2 separate regions of the Homo sapiens genome follow, and region 2 is linked to region 1. The links are contacts of gene promoters, found by promoter capture Hi-C in blood cells and fetal thymus (Javierre and others, 2016). All regions are on one chromosome and are shown on one strand. Each heading gives the region's core, a stretch centred on a gene start or on the middle of the fragment in contact. The rest is flanking DNA. Distances are from core to core; before and after follow the strand shown. Region 1 holds the start of RFTN2 (raftlin family member 2). Region 2 holds the start of BOLL (boule RNA binding protein).

The links. Contacts are between HindIII fragments. The CHiCAGO score rates a contact against its expected background, and 5 or more counts as called.
Region 2: the fragment with the promoter of BOLL here is called in contact with the fragment with the promoter of RFTN2 in region 1 in 7 of 17 cell types (erythroblasts, naive CD8 T cells, M0 macrophages and 4 more); the score reaches 10.6 in erythroblasts.

What each region holds. Positions count from the first base shown.
Region 1 is chr2:197,672,081-197,677,120 of GRCh38, forward strand. RFTN2 (raftlin family member 2) reads right to left here and starts at 3,507. Exons shown (of 9, transcript NM_144629.3): 1 at 3,240-3,507. The coding sequence starts at 3,378. The HindIII fragment of the contact is 18,558 bases long and covers 1-5,040 here.
Region 2 is chr2:197,782,933-197,787,928 of GRCh38, forward strand. It overlaps BOLL (boule RNA binding protein), which reads right to left and starts at 2,387. Exons shown (of 11, transcript NM_033030.6): 1 at 2,124-2,387. RefSeq lists an enhancer at 3,563-3,792. The HindIII fragment of the contact is 5,410 bases long and covers 384-4,996 here.

The DNA.
Region 1 (5,040 bases), core at 2,257-4,756:
GAATTGTTACTTTATCATAATACAGTGAAAGAAATCATTACTATACAATAATCCAGAAAAATATAAACATTTTACCAAAACCTCATTAGTGCAGTTGGTAGACTTGGCATAAAGTTCCAGAAAAATTCGGCCTACCTAGATGAAACTTTAAATTTCTTGAAAGAAGGGGCTATGTGTTTTATTTCTTTTATAGTACCTAAGATACCCAGCATAGCAGCGCAATCAGGAGCTACTCCAAACACATTTGTCGAGTTGTAGTTGCACAAACTAATAATTTTATGGCCAGAATAAGAAAAATGTGTATGAACCTTTGAAGAGAACATATAAGTAACCAATACTTGATGATTATGTATCAGAGGGGAAATGCAGGAATTATTTTAATGACCTCAATAGGTTGGTCAAAAAGCATCCTGCAGGAGCTGGGTTTAAAGGAGGAATGTGGAGACAGAGGGTATTCTCAGAGGAAGGATCATAACAGTTAATCTTTATCAAGTGCTTACTAACTGCCAGATACCTTTCCAAGTAGATCATCTTATATTAGGTCCTTTGATCCTTAAAACAACTCTGTGACGTCAGCACCATGAGAATACCCATTTTATAGATGAGGAAACTGAGATAGAGCAACATTTACAAATTTGCCACAGTTTTCAGCCTAGATTCAGGACCCCAAAACTATGACTCCAGAGTTTTGTATGCTTCAAGTCTATGCTATGATTTCTCCTATAGAGATGTAAATAATGATTCAAAGGCCAAAAAGAAAAAGAAAAGTGTGGGGAAGGGAGAGGGAGAGAGACAGAGACAGAGAGATAAGGAGAGAATGGGAGGTGTAAGTTGTTTTGTTTTCTGGGTGGAGCTTTGAAAGTGATATATAATTGAATGGAAAATAAATAAGTTGTTCTAGAAAGTTATAACCACCATAATGCAGGACAGGGCACTGTGGATTTTCAGAGGGTCTCCTCCTCCTGCCCCCATTGGATCTACTTTCTGTGCCATGGCCTCTATTTGGAAAAAACAGAGGAAAATAATGTAAGAGACAGGCTCATCATGAGCACACACAGCTGTCACCAGGCCATTTTATTTCCTGAAAGGTTGCTCATTCCATGGTGGCCTCTGACAGGCAGGAGGTGCCACTATTCAAGCCTCCTCCCAGCAACCCAGGACAGAATTACCGGTGCCAAACAGAAAGCTGGCATGTTTTAACCCACCCATGACCCACTCCTATATACACTGGAGTGGCAGCCGGAGGTCAGAGACAACAGAAGAGCAGCAGGGAAACTATGACCTGGAAGGTAGTTTGCGGAGTTGGGCTGATGCTGAGTCCTGGCTTCTGAAGCAAAGGCAATGGGGAAGACAGAAACAAAGAAAAAACTAAAACAAAAACATGGGGAAAAATTGGAGCGCAATGGGGCACCAGGAGACTAGGCGCCTGTACCAAATAGGATCCAGGTGCAGCTTTAAAGTATGTGCCTGCTTTATGTGTTAACATTTGCACACTCTGCCCATACTTAAACTTTTACAGTGTAATACTCTGTTATCTCTTCTAAGCACCTAGAGTGGAAGGTAGAAATTATACTCCTTTCACAGAGAGAAGGGCTTCTGAGAATAACAAAACCCAAGTGACTTTTGAATAAAGCTGCAGATCTTTCTGATTCAAGGATGACTGCATTTATACAAATTTGTTTGAGATGTTAACATTGTTGGAAGGAAATGAATCAGAAAAACTTTTCAAGTTACTTTAAACCCTATGATCCTACAATGGGTTGTGCAGAGAATCCTAAAGTACAGATCAAAATGGTTCTGACCTAAATTCATGAATACACAGTGTTTCAAGGTTAAGGAGAGTATGTGTCTGTCTCCTATGGATGTACAGAAACGAGTCCTAAAAAAAAATTGATGAGGAAAATCAATGGTGTGAACATAGCACCACATTACAAATATTTTCTCAAATGAAGGTTTTTGAAAAAGTATAGAAAAAATTCAAACGGTTGTTTGGTTACTTCTCTGATAATTGCTATTATCTTAATCCATTTTTAACATTCATAATTTAAAAGAAAATTAAGAAATTAAGAATATTAATTTTTTTCTTTTGGTAGCCTTAGCTTTAAACAAAAATAGGATATGAACATGTTAAAAGTCTATGTACAGATTTTGTGTATGTCCCTGGAAGGGAGTTTGTTTGCTGGCCAGCTTAATTTTTGACAAAGAAAAATGGGCTGCTCTTGCTTCTTGCACAAAGATGCACTGTTTCTAGAGCAAAGCAAAAAAAAAAAAAAAAAAAAAAAAGAAAAGAATGTGTGTAAACAAAAAATTTGGAAAAAAATTAAGATAATATTCAACATGATAATTTAGTATAAACTTTTTGTGAATTGATAAAATGTGTGGCTCATTAGAATTAAAAATATAACTATAATAAGAATTTTACTAATATCTGATAACTTTAACAGCAAGCAAAGCACTCTAAATTTCATTTTTACTACTTCATAATTAAAGATATAGCTTTTTTAAAAAGCTGCTTTGTCTGTGCAGTTGTACAGTACTCTAAAGTTTCCAAAAGAAATGAGGCAAAGTATTTGTGAAATCGAGCCACCTCGATTCCTTCCACAGAGCTGCCATCTGGGCTTGTTTATTTGTGTTTCCAACTTTCTGGAACAGAGAGTTTCTCTGTTAGGGACAGGGCACTGAGCAAAGGAAGTGTCTTACAGAAGGCTATCTTTTTTTTTTTTTTAACTACATTTTCAAAACTTATAGTTTAGTTTGGTCAAAAATATCAAATGACTACCATAATCACAGAGTCTAACACAATTGGAAGCCTCAGAATTGTCTTAGCAAACACTCTTCCACGATATGATGCAAGTAATATTTACTACATAATACCTTATTGTGATTTTCAAATCTTTTTCAAAATACAAACTGTCACTAAGGCTATATAGCTATTTGTCCTGGAAATCAAGCATTTTTCATAAATCCTTCTATAAATAAGTATTTGATTTAAAAATGAAAGAAGTATTTCCAAGCAATTTCCCTAATTTTAGAAGGTACATATGAGCCATGTTACCAAAATACGAAGCAATCAACAAAACAAAAATCTTACAAAGTATAATTAAGAAGCGAAGCATTATTGTTTGAATATACAATCTCATTATGAAGAACAGTTTAAAAATTTATTAAGTCAACACTTAAAAATGACTAGTAGTCTCATCTCTGAAACATTTAACAAACAAAATAGAAGCAAAAAGTACCTTGTAGAGTAAAATCCAGCAATACATATTCGTAAGCAAATTCTGTCTTTGTTTCCACTTGCGGTCTCTTCAGGGTAGAAAATATTTTTCCAGGGCTGCTATCATCAGGGTCTTCTAGCTTTCTAAGTCCGCACCCCATGGCAAAATCTGTAAGGAATTAAATTGCAGGAAAGGGGAGGGAGAGCAGCAAATTCTGTTGTTTAAGCTGCAAAAAGAAAGTTACAGACTTAACTGCTTTGATTTTGTTTTCAGCTAAACTATAGATAACCAAAAAAAAAAAAAAAAGCAAAAACCAAAAAAAAAAAAAAAACCCAAAAAAAACCATCTGGGTCCAAAGAAAGGAGTTGAAGAATTTTTCTATCCATTTTTCTGTAAAGTCATTGAACCCATGATTAAGCTACAGCTCCAGGAGGCTGGGCTTGATCTTAGAGAAACATGCAAGCTGCTACAACTTAGCGGAGAATTTCCATGCCACGTCAATTTACAGCCAGCCCCCTACCAGAGTTCTGTCGCTCAGGGCACCAGCGGTGCTTTGTCTATTCCAGTTGGCTGGATGATAAAAAGAGGTGTCCAAAAACGGAAATAAAAAGGCAAAAGGGCAACTTGGATGTAATTATCTACAAGTAGAAGATATATTCAGACATAGTGGCACACAATTCTTTTTCTGTTTTCCCTCTCCTCTCTGTCCTGCGCCTACCCTCCTTCCTCTCAACTACTACCAAGAAAGAAAAAGGAGAGAGAGAGAGAGAGGCAGTAGGGGGGTGGAGAGAGAGACAGAGAGAGAGAGGGAAAAAGAGAGAGAGAGAGTGAAAGAGAGAGAGAGAAAGAAAGAAAGAGAAAAATGAAAAGAGTGGATTCTCAACATATTTAGAAACAAAAATCATTTCCAGAAAGGAAGTCAGCTTTATGAGGAAACTATTTCTGGAGTCTAAAAGGAGGAAAGTAAAGTTTAAAAAAACAGCCCTTTAAGTCTTTAGTTAGTACTTTTGAGGATTTCTTTCCATATGAAGTTTCTTTCTGTTGGAAAAAATCATATGCTAATTAAAACAGCAAAGTATAAAAAATTTATATTAAAATATTTTTATAAAAAAGACTTTACTTAATTGCAAAGGAGAGACAGTTATGTGTGTAATTAGTTTCCCCAACATCCTTAAATAGTTTAAAACACTCTACTATTAGAAGGCTTATGATAGCAACTAATACTTCTATAGGTCTCAAAGTATCCTTAATTAAAAAATAAAACAAAACTGACAACTTGATTCATTTAATTTTTTTTTTTTTGAGATGTGGTCTTGCCTGTCACCTAGGCTAGAGTGCAGTGGCAAAATCATGGTTCACTTCAGCCTCGACCTCCCGGGCTCAAGCCATCTTCCCACCTCAGCTTCCCAAGTAGCTGAGACCACAGGCTTCAATGTGATTGAAAAAATTTTTCAGGCTTGTATTCTCTAGAATCTCAACTGTGATAAGGGTTTATTTTGTAAATAATGGAAGCAGTGGCAGAATCACATGCAACCACATCTGGCTCATTTTTGTATTTTTTTGTGGAGATAGGGTCTCACTATGTCACCCAGGCTGGTTTTGAAATCCTCAGCTAAAGTGATCCTTCTGGATCGGCTTCCCAAAGTACTGGGATTACAGGTGTGAGTCACTGCACCAGGGCCATTCAGTCTTATAAACTGCCATTTACCGGAGGTCAAGAATAATTTATAATGGACCAATTGTAATGAACGTTTATTGTATTTTACCCTTTACAGGTCAGGAAGTATGGTGCGCTCATCAAAACTGTGAGCCCTGGAATCAG
Region 2 (4,996 bases), core at 1,137-3,636, 110 kb after region 1:
AAATTTTAATAAATATATATAAATGTATAAGCCTTTGCAGAATGGTAAGATAATAGACTTTTAAGGTATAACTGAAAAAAAACCCAAGACTTGAGAATCACATTGAAGAGAAACCAATTCAAGAACTGGTGAATTATTTTCCATCTGGAAACACTAAACACACTTCTGAGACAAACCCCATAATATCCTAAAGACAAACCCCATAATATCCTAAATGTGTGCTTCAAAAAACTTGAAGTAAACTGGGTGTTGTGGCTTGTGCCTGTAATCCCAGCTGCTTGGGAGGCTGAGGCAGGAGGATTGCTTGAGATCAGGAGTTCGAGACCAGCCTGGGCAACAAAGAAAGACCCCATCTCAAAAAGAAAGAAAAAGAAAATAACAAAAGCTTGAAGTTCATAATTCCAATTCTCTGAGAAACAAACTCATGAAAATGAATCTCCAGCTCAGGTAATAAAGTTGTTCTTTTTCAAATTTGTTCTGCTCTTTCTTCTCTGGCCAATACAATCACAATCCCTAAATTAATCTTTGCAAGATGTACAGAGAAATGACTAGGGCAGGAGTGGCAATTGGGCTATAGGCTGGACCTTATGGGCTCTCTTCCCCATCCAGCCTTAAGGAAGTATGTACTCCTAATAAGGGAATATGTAAATACTTCTTTTAAAACACAGAAAAGCCACCACATTTAATAATTACTATGTTGTAGTTTCCAATGAAAGAAACTGGGAATCTAATCTTAACAGCTTTCTCTCTGGGCACTTGGAGGTTATTTGTGACTTCAGTCACTTCGCTCAGTAGGATATAATGCTCAGAATGGGTAATTCTGGAATGCTTAGTATTTTTCAACTATGGATTTTGTATTGCTAGAGATAATATAACAGCTCTAGTAGATGTAATCTTGTCTTTCTGCCCATTTGTTTACAGTGTCAAAATTACCTATTTGCTAAATTTAAAAAATCATTCTTCATGAAATTCTCTTATTGAAAATAAGATGTACTAATATGTTCGCAAGTTTAAGTAAAAGACAAACCCCATTATATTTCATTGAGAGAAGGATGAAATGAACGGAAGTAAACAGTGCTTTATTTCCAATCTCGAGAAACTAAAGGATACTCCCTGAGAAAAGAAAAACAACCTTTCACACTCAATTCACTTCATTCTCCTCCACTCTCTAAGGCTCTATTGTGGGCTCGCTCTGCTTAAGTTTTCTCCCTCATCATTTTCTAACATACGATATAGTTTACTTAGTATGTTTATTATCTGTCTCCACTATTATGTAATGCACCAGGGCAGAAGTTTTGCTTTTTTCATGGCAGCATCTAAAGTACTGACAGTACACAGCAGGTGCTCAATAAATATCTGTTGAATGACTAAAAGTGAATCATTTCTTCAGGAGAGACCTGCTCATGATATGCCAAATAGGCTGAAGGCTAAAGAATACAGTATAACAGCAGTCTAATACATATATATATATATATATATATATATATATATATATATATATATATATATATATATATTTGAGACAGTCTTGCTCTGTCGCCAGGCTGGAGTGCAGTGGCGTGATTTCGGCTCACTGCAACCTCCGCCTCCCTGGTTCAAGAGATTCTCCTGCCTCAGCCTCCTGAGTAGCTGAGACTACAGGTGCGCACCACCACGCCCAGCTAATTTTTTTGTATTAGTAGAGATGGGTTTTCACCATTTTGGCCAGGATGGTCTCGATCTCCTGACCTCGTGATCCGCCCACCTTGGCCTCCCAAAGTGCTGGGATTACAGGCGGGAGCCATCGCGCCAGGCCTACAAAATATTTTAATGTTAGCAATAGCAAGGCTCAGGTGGAGGCAACATCTAAGTTCATTATAAACAATTAGCGATGCATTGAGTTAAACAACAAAGAAAGCCTGAAATTCCACTAGCAATAATTCCGCATGTGTTACGGAAACACCTAGATGGGGACTGTTGCCGGGTTTGAAGGCTCCTCCGTTTGCTAAAACTTCCAGCACTAGAGAGTTTATTAAACTACTCCTCCAAAGCAATGTGCCCTCACTGGCCCCTCCCCTTGAGAATCAACCTCGAGATCTAGCATCTATTTTGCAAACGAAGACAGCAGGAACGGGCGGGCTAACCGTCGCAGTCACTGCCTCGGCGCTCCTCCCCCTCCAAGGCCAGCAAGTTGCGGCACTGGGGGAAATGGCCGCGGCGACAACTTCCTCGAGTTCTCTCGGGTCATCGTGAACTTGGGCACCGAAACGAGGATCCACCCCCTCCCCACCAAAGTGCGGGAGGGAAAAGAAGGCTAGCCAGCGAGAAATTTTGCCCCACAAATCCGCCAGCAGCAGTGGCGGGAAGCCTCAACGGCAGCGACCCCGCCGCTGGCCTCGTGCGCAGCTGGTCCCCACCCTCGCGCGGCGCTCCCTGATTGGCTGCTGGCGGCGGGACGGGGCGGGGCGGGATGGCACGTTGCCGCTGCGCCTCGGGCCTGTGCGGGCAGTCCTCCTTCACTTCCCCAAGTCCACCCTGACTGGCTTGGGTGCACAGCCAGGGCTAGAGTGTCCGGGTCCCGCCTGGGCCACAGGCGGGCCCTGCCAGGTCTCTCAGACCTTCCGGTCCTCGCTGACCAGTCGGGGAGTGGAGGCGTCGACCGCCCTGGCAACTCCTCGCCTTGGGCGGCTGGGTCGAGTTCGGCCGCAGGGAGCGTCAAAGACGCTGCCTAGCCCAATTTCGGCGGGAAAGCGGTTTACCTGCTCGGACTTCGCTGGGTGCCTGGCAGCCCGCCGCCTCCCGAAACATCCACGCCTGAGGTCCCCTGGCCCGTCTACACCCAGTCCAGGCCCCGTGGCGGCGCCTTTCTGACCCCCATGACACAGCCAGACGAGGTCTGCGGGCGGGTGGCTCCTGGCAGCGGTCGATGGGGCACCTGGCCACGTTTCTTCCCAACCAGATAGCGAGCGTTTGGGGCCTTCACCTCGCCCCTCCAAGCCCTCAGGGACAGGCTCCACGCTGCTCCTTCTCCCCGCTATCCCGCGCCCTGGGGCCCTGATCGCCGTACTCACCGGCCCGGACTCGGTTTCCATCTTCCTCTCTGCTCTTCAGAGACGCGGGGTAGGGAAAAGAAGCCTAAAGTTTGAAACCACCTTCACGCCAAGGCAGCAGCGCTGCTTGTCCTGCCTGGGACTCTCGCCCCCTGGCGGCGAGGGTGGCTGTGGCAGCTGCAGGGAAGCAGGCTCGGACCCCGGCCCTGAACCTGCCACCTGGCGGGTGGGGAGAAGCGGACTGCGTCGCCTCGGGTGGCAGGTGGCGGTGCGGGCGGGCGCTGCAAGCCGGAGAGGGGCGCGGGAGGGCGAGTTTCGGCTGTGGCCCTGGGACTCCGAGCCGGGGCGTCTCAGGGGCAGAGCGCACGGCACAGCGGGGCGGGCGTGGGGCGTGCGGAGCGAGGGCTCGGTTCTGGGACCCCTCTCGCCTTCTCTCAGACGGCTGGGGAGGAGAGAGCGAGCGGTCAGGCAAAGCTCCATGCACGCCTTCCCCTCTCCTCCACTTGAGAAGAGTCGGCCTCTGGGACTGGTGGGTTTCGAGAGGTTGAGGTGACCTTAAGGCTTTACTGAGGTAGAAGAAGCCGGTTGACGGGCGACTTCCGAAGACTGGTGTAAAGCGAAGAAGGTTCTAGAGTCAAACTCTGACTCTCGGGGCCTGACTCGCAAAACTCGGGGGCTCCCGAGAAGCCGCGGACGCCGCTCTGCACCTGTTGCCGCCGTCACTCATCCCGCCAGGCGGGCGGGGCCGCGCGGGTGGCTTGGTCAGGACCTGCCATTCAGCCCAGTCGGGCTCCGGTGCTCGCCCCGGACGGCGCCCCAAGCGGGTCCCGGCCCCGCTGAGCACCTCCAGCAGTGGCACAGCCTCTGGAGGGGTCCGGGACGAAGCCACCCGCGCGGTAGGGGGCGACTTAGCGGTTTCAGCCTCCAACAGCCTTGGGATCGCCTTTGGAAGAAGATTGCGCTTTTTTTCTTAAATTAATGAATTAATTTACTAATTATTTTTATTTTTGAGACGGAGTCTCGCACTGTCGCCCGGGCTGGAGTGCAGTGGCGCGATCTCGGCTCACTGCAACCTCCGCCTTCCGGATTCAAGCGATTCTCCTTGTCTCAGCCTCCCGAGTAGCTGGGATTACAGGCGCCCGCTACCACGGCTAATTTTTGTATTTTTAGTAGAGACGGGGTTTCACCATGTTGGCCAGGCTTGAACTTCTGACTTCAAGTGAGCTGCCTGTCTTGGCCGCTCAAATTGTTGGGATTACAGGCTTGAGCCACCGTGCCCGTCCAGTTGACTAATTATTTAGACACGAAGGCTCACTCTGTCGCCCAGGCTGGAGTGCAGTGGTGCGATCACGCTCACTGAATTCTCGACCTCCTGGGCTCAAGCGATCCTCCCACCTCAGCCTTCTGAGTAGCTGGGACCACAGGCAGGCCCACGCCACCATGCCTGGCTGAAAGAAGACTGCTTTGTAAATAATACGTATTTCTAGTAGGTAGCTAAAATGATTACAACTGGATAAACTTATAGTAATGATTATCATTATTATAGCTGCCATTTATCAAGTACTCACTTTGTTTCAGGCACAATGCTTTATGATCAGTATCATTTAATCTTTTCATGCTCACAGCAACCTTTCAGATAGATGCTCCAATTATCGTCATAGTACGTGATGAAGCAGAGATTTGAAGGATAAGTAATTTGGTCAAGATCTAAAGCTGTAGGAGGTTTAACCCTCGTCTCCCCCCCAACCCACAGTTCTTGATCATAACCATTTTGCCACATATTTTTAAAGAATCAGCAGTAACAACTGTTAAAATTTACACCAGTAATAACTATTGTACACACTACTATAAAAGTTTGACTTTGGGTTACTTTGCCTTCAAGATATAGAATTAAAAACAGAGTGAATATATTAATTTTTGATTTATTCAAAGATTAGCTCTTCATATTATTTTACCCAAAATAAAAT